2 separate regions of the Homo sapiens genome follow, and region 2 is linked to region 1. Evidence: promoter capture Hi-C in 16 types of primary human blood cells and fetal thymus (Javierre and others, 2016). All regions are on one chromosome and are shown on one strand. The core of a region is centred on a gene start or on the middle of the fragment in contact, and the rest is flanking DNA. Distances in the headings are between cores, read along the strand shown. Region 1 holds the start of ZNF678 (zinc finger protein 678). Region 2 has its middle 12 kb from the start of RNF187.

Region 1 (3,386 bases), core at 430-2,929:
AATTAGCCAGGTGTAGTGGCGCACGCCTGTAGTCCCAGCTACTTGGGATGCTGAGGCAGGAGAATCGCTTGAACCCAGGAGGCGGAGGCTGCAGTGAGCCGAGATCACGCCACTGCACTCCAGCCTGGCAACAGAGCGAGACTCCAACTCAACCAAAAAAAAAAAAAAAAAAAAAAAAAAGCCGGGTAGGGAAAAAACAACAGGCCAGGCGTGGTGGCTCACGCCTGTAATCCCAGCACTTTGGGAGGCCAAGGCGGGGGATCACGAGGTCAGGAGTTGGAGACCAGCCTGACCAACATGGTGAAACTAAAATACAAAATACTAAAAATACAAAAATTAGCCGGGGGTGGTGGCGCGGGTCTGTAATCCCAGCTACTCAGGAGGCTGAGGCAGGAGAATCGCTTGAACCCGGGAGGCAGAGGTTGCAGTGAGCCAAGATCGCGCCACTGCACTACAGCCTGGGCTACAGAGCGAGACTCCTTCTTAAAGAAAAAACAAAAACAAACAAAACAACAACAGCAACAACAAAGAGTGCCCTCCAATGTTCTGTGAAAAAATGATTAATTAAAATATTGTGCCTGGAGTACGCAATAAAAGACAAATAGCTGACAGTGTTGTGAACTGAAGAGGTGATGGTGGTTTTTATGAATTTTGGAAAGAAACTGAAAATTTAGTATTTTATTGCAGGCCAGAGTCAGGCTGGGAGAACAGAGGAGTGGATTTAAGACCCTGCTTTCCATGTTATTTGGAAAATGCAGGGGAAAAGCAGTCTCTTGTGCAGTGTTAAAATAATTAGCAGGCAATTAGACTGAGGTGGCTCTAGTGTCTTGCGTTTCTACATGAAAAAGAATATTAATAGCTCAAATGCATTTCTTGTTAATGACTGCCTTAAGTAGAAACAAAATCCAAGTTCAACCAATCACAAAACTCCAATTAATCAGTAATTAAATAACCAGGAAATTTCCACCTGGACAGTCCAAATAAGGTGACTGTAACTGTCGTCAATTATTAAATTTGGCTTGCTTCCTCATGCACCTTACAAAAAAGTTTTTCCTTCAAGCACCTCCTCCATAAACCCACAAGCCACACACCATAGCTGGGCGCTCTCCCATTCATGAAACTCCCTTTCCTCAAACTCTTCAAAGCTTTAAAAGTGACTCCATTTTTCACAGGAAAAAGGATGGACTGCACAGCTAAGATAAGCCCCATGGAACAGCTCTTCCCACGCATGTTTCGCACACCGATTTGGCTTCTCCCCGATGACCCTCCCCTCTGGACAAAGCACACAGTCTGGGGGACCCGCGGGGCTGCGGCTTCATAGCCGCCCAGAGAGGCCGGGGCGGAAGCCGCGGCGCAGTGATGGGAGGAGAATCCCGCGGCGGCCTGGCCCCGCCCCTACCCAGAGGTGACAGATCCCACAGGTGCCAGCCGGGACTCCGGGCCGCGGACTCTAGTGCTGACGCCGGGAGGCCGGACCGCCATCTTGGAACACCCTCCCGGGAACTCTCACCGTTTTCCGGCTTTCGGGGTGTCCTGGCATCTTAGCTATGTAACTCCCAGTACCTGCAGGTCACAGGGAAACCAGACACTGCAGCAGCAGAGTCACCAGGGCCTCCCGCAGCTGGGGATAAATAGCCGAGAATACGGGACCAAAGCTCCAGCTGGAGCACAAGACAAAGGCCCCGCCAGATCCCGGAAACCCCCTCCGCCTCTCAAGCTGCGCTCCTGATTGGACAGTTCCCACGTCAATGTCCCTGATTGGACAGGGCTCCAGGACCCGCCTCCTTTGGTTATGAGTGACAGGAGATGAGGTCAGCAAAGGGGTTGAATGAGACTATTAACAAAATGGGCAATTTTTTTTGTATCCTTCCAAAATTGTTCCATGTCTTTCCATGCATACCATCTTTAATAAAGGGCGCACTCTTAAGCCAATCTGCAATCTCTGTTCCTGAGTGTCTAAACAACGTCATCATCATCTTCTGTTGGAGAAAAACCTGAAGATGAGTTTTCCTCCCAAAGCACAGAACAGTCAGAAGCCGAGGCGTGCTTGGGAATGCTGGCGGGTGGAAAGGGGAGGCGCATTCCGGTGCGCCTGTGGAACTGTCCTTGCAAGCAGGACCCAGGTCCAGAACAGCTATGCAATGCATGTGTTTCTGACCAAAGGGGGCCTGCTGTCCACCCGCCTCTTCTGCTGGGCAGGGCAGCGCATGGTTGGGGTATTTACACCCAGGCAGGTGTCCCAGGCCAGTCCCCTGTCAACCCATCATAATAAAAAAGTCAGAATCTATTTTCAAAAGTATATTCAAAAGCATATGTTTAGGATACCTACCTGAGAGCATAGACTAAAGTTGCCCTGATTATACATTCCAACTAGTAACCATTACAAGTGGGTTTTAAGAAAAGAGGCAGTTCCTAAAATTTTCATCAAAAATTTACATTAAAATCCAGAAGTCACTGACTGGCTATACATTGTTCTTTGTATCACAAATTCCAGATGAGACAGCTAGTTAGGAACAACATACCTTTAAACAATTGCCCCTGGGAAAGGGTGTGGAGATGTGTCTCAAATCCCATACTCAAGTCTCTCTGGGCCAGAAAAATCTTCCGTACCTCACAGAGCTTCAGCTACTTAGAGCTATTCTTTTCTTATCTCCATAGTCAGTACACTTGGACCCTTAACAAGAAATAAGTTCAAACAGAAAATTTGCCAAGCCACAGGAATAATGGCCTGTCAGTGCCCTTCAGGAAGCTGATTGTCACTTTCCTTCAACACCCTTTCCACAGCTTCCCCCCAACACACACACCCTGGATCCCGGGAGAGAGGGGCTGAGACGCACCCAGACACACCTCGCTGCCCCTCCTGCAAACATACACCCACACACAGACACACAGACAAAGACACAGACACAGGCAGCTTGAAGGAGAGCAAGAGAGAGGGATGGAGACATAGAAACGGAGGGAGAGAAAGACAGTGATAGAGAGGCAGAGTGAGTCAGGATTGAGAGAGAGAGAGAGAGAGAGAAGGCTACAGAAAGAGCACGAGGTGGAGGGGGAAGAAGAAGAGAGAGGATGAGGGACTTACAGAGCCATAGAGCCTTGGAGAGGGAGTGTTCTGCTCCGGTAGACAGGGCCCCTTTGAGCAGGACAGGGTAGGGTGGAGGGTGCTTGGGCTGGGCCAGAACAGGGTGGAAGGGCTAACGGAGTGACCCAACAGAGCCCTGAGACGTATTTTTTGTTGGATTGGTTGCTTTGGTGGTGCGTTTCATAGGACTTTTCCTTTGTTGGCTCCTCCCTGTCCTCTTGGTGCGGTGGGCCCCGAGATTTGTAGAGTGCAACCGTCCCTCTAGCGAGAGCTGTGGCACCGAGCATGCCCACGGGGCAGAGGC
Region 2 (3,027 bases), core at 519-3,018, 940 kb before region 1:
TTCCCCTGCCTCTCTCTCTCCCCCCAGGCCTCCCTATCCCCTGGCACACAACAATACTGAAATTGGGCCAATTAATGACCCTATAATGGCCCCTAAGTGTTGAAGTGAAAGGAAGAGTCACACACCTCTCACTTTAAGGCAAAGGCTAGAGATGATCAATCTTAGTGAGGAAGGCACATCCAAAGCAGAAAGATGCTACTTGTGCCAAAGTCAGCCAAGCTGTGAATGCAAAGGAGAAGTTCTTGAAGGAAACTGAAAGTACTCCAGTGAACACACGAATGATAAAAAAGCGAAAGTCTTATTGCAGATATGCAGAAAGTGTGCACGGTCTGAATAGAAAATCAAACCAGCCACAACATTTCCTTAATCCAAAGCCTAATCCAGAGCAAGATCCTCTCTTCAATTCTATGAAGGTTGAGAGAAGCGAGGAAGCTGCAGAAGAAAAGCTTGAAGCTGGCGGGGGTTGGTTCATGCGGTTTAAAAAAAGAAGCCATCACTGTAACATAAAAATGCAAGGAGAAGCAGCAAGAGCTGATGAAGGCGCTGCAGCAAGTTCTCCAGCAGATCCAGCTAAGATCACTGATGAAGGGGGCCACACTAACAACGGATTTTCAATGCACACAAAACAGCCTTCTATTAGAAGCAGATGCCATCCAGAACTCTCATAGCTAGAAAGAAGCCAATGCCTGGCTCCAAAGCTTCAAAGGACAGGGTGACTCTCTTGTTAGGGGCTCATGCAGCTAGCGACTTCAAATTAAAGCCAATGCTCATTCACCAATTACAACAATTCTAAGGCCCTTAGGAATTATGTTCAATCTACTCTACCTGTGCTGTATAAATGAAACAACAAAGCCTACATGACAGCACATCTGTTTACTGCATGGTTTACTATTTTAAGTCCATTAAAATATTAAAATAGCCATTAACACAACATTCAAGTCTTATTAACTTTCAAGTTAACTTCCATAATTAACTTTCAAGTCTTATTATTTAAGACATTTCATAAGGCTACAGCTGCCTTAGACAATGATTCCTCTGATGGATCTGGGAGAAAATTTTTAAAAACCTGCTGGAAAGGATTCACCATTCTAGATGCCTTAAGAACATTCATGATTCATGGGAGGAGGTCAAAACAGCAACATGAACAGGAGTTTGGAAGATGTTGATTCCAGCCCTCATGGATGACTCTGAGCGATCCCGGACTTCAGGGGAGGAAGTCACTGCAGATGTGGTGGAAACAGCAAGAGAACGAGAATTGGAAGTGGAGCCTGGAGATGGGACTGAATTGCTGCAGTCTCATGAGAAAACATGAATGGATGACAAGTTGCTTCTTATGGATGAACAAAGGAAGTGTTTTCTTGAGATGGAATCTACTTCTGGTGAAGATGCTGTGCACACGGTTGAAATGACAACAAAGGATTTAGAATTGACATCAACTTAGTTGATAAAGCAGTGGCAGGGTTTGAGAAGAGTGACTCTAATTTTTAAAGATGTTATGTGGGTAAACTGCTATCAAACAGCAACACATGCTACAGAGAAGTCTTTTGAATGGAAGTCAATTGATGTGACAAACTTCATTGTCTTATTTTAAGAAATTGCCACAGCAACCCCAAACTCCAGCAGCCACCACCCTAATTAGTCAGCAGCCACCAACATTGAGGCAAGACCCTCCCCCAGCAAAAAGATGGCAATTCACTGAACACTCAGATGATCATTAGCATTTTTTAGCAACAAAGTATTTTAAAATTAAGGTACATACATTGGCTTTTTTAGACATAATGCTACTGCATACTTAGTAGACTACATTACAGCCTATAAAAGCATTTTATATGCACTTGGAAACCAAACATTTCATGGGACTTGCTTTATTGCAGTATTTGCTGTATTGCAATGGTCTAGAAGCAAACCCATGGTTTCTCCAAGGTATGCCTTTTAGTTTGACCCCAGACTGCACTCCAAAGCAGCGGCCTTATTCTACACTCCTCACAGCACCTCTGGGCTCACCTAATGTGCCATCATCACTCAGACTTCAACATCACCTAGTGCTGCAGTTCCCACCACCCGCCCGAACCACCCCCGCCCCAACCCACCCCGAGCTAAAGCAGTATCTCATTATGGTTTTAATTATGATTCTCCAGTTACTAAATAGTTTAAGCATCTCCTTATATTTTGCTGCTGTCAACCTCATGAAATAATAGCTACTCAGTTAGGTAATGTAGAAGGTAAAATGGCCCCAAGCATTTTTATCTCCTCTCTTTGGCCACAGGATCCTGAAACTGAAAACGACCTTTGGGTCCCAACTATCCACGGCTTTCCCACAAAGCTCTGAAAATAAGAGTTGAGAAAAAAGTATTGAGCTACTGGACAAATACATCAGTGTCTTGAGAATGTGTCCCCTACCTTCCAGCAAACAAACTGTTGCTTTTCTATGCAGTGCCTGGCCTCAGTTTCCTTCCACATGTCACCCACAGCCAGCCTCGGAGATCCTCCTGCCTAGGGCTGCCCTTGACCAGAGAGATCTGGTTGCAGCAAAGCCACAGGGACACCAGTGGCTCCTCAGAGCTTGCGTGGTCAAGGGCTGAGGAAGGGCGTCTGTTTCAAGCCATTTCTATAAAACACCCTGTGGGAGCAGACCTGAAGGAGAGGGGCAACCGCCACACAGGTATGGGGGAGAAATGTTCCCTGGAGATCAGAGGCCGAGGCAGGGCCCACCTGGCTTGCTGAAGAACAGAGAGGCCATCATGCTGGGTCTGCAGGGAGCAGGGGGCACAGTGGTGACGAGAGAGGAAGAGCTCGGGGTGGATTATGTAGCACTTCCCAGGCCACTGCGAAGCTTTCCCGGAATGAATCTGAGTTGCTGCAGGGCCTTGAGTACAGCAGGGGCAGGCTCTTGCTTAGTTTTTATTTTCATTGTTTTAATAAATTTCATTGTGTATATTTAAGGTATGCAACGTGATGTTACAAAGTACAAACAGATAGCAAAATGGTCACTACAGGGGAGCAATTAACATTCCCATCACCTCCCAG

Evidence for each region. Contacts are between HindIII fragments. The CHiCAGO score rates a contact against its expected background, and 5 or more counts as called.
Region 2: a contact is called between a fragment that was not itself captured here and the fragment with the promoter of ZNF678 in region 1, in 1 of 17 cell types (total B cells). The highest score is 5.5, in total B cells.

What each region holds. Positions count from the first base shown.
Region 1 is chr1:227,561,849-227,565,234 of GRCh38, reverse strand. ZNF678 (zinc finger protein 678) reads right to left here and starts at 1,679. Exons shown (of 4, transcript NM_001367909.1): 1 at 1,511-1,679. RefSeq lists an enhancer at 1,444-1,723. The HindIII fragment of the contact is 3,691 bases long and covers 1,148-3,386 here.
Region 2 is chr1:228,497,732-228,500,758 of GRCh38, reverse strand. No RefSeq gene overlaps it. Among named protein-coding and RNA genes, the nearest start is that of RNF187, 12 kb to the right of the region's middle. The HindIII fragment of the contact is 2,135 bases long and covers 701-2,835 here.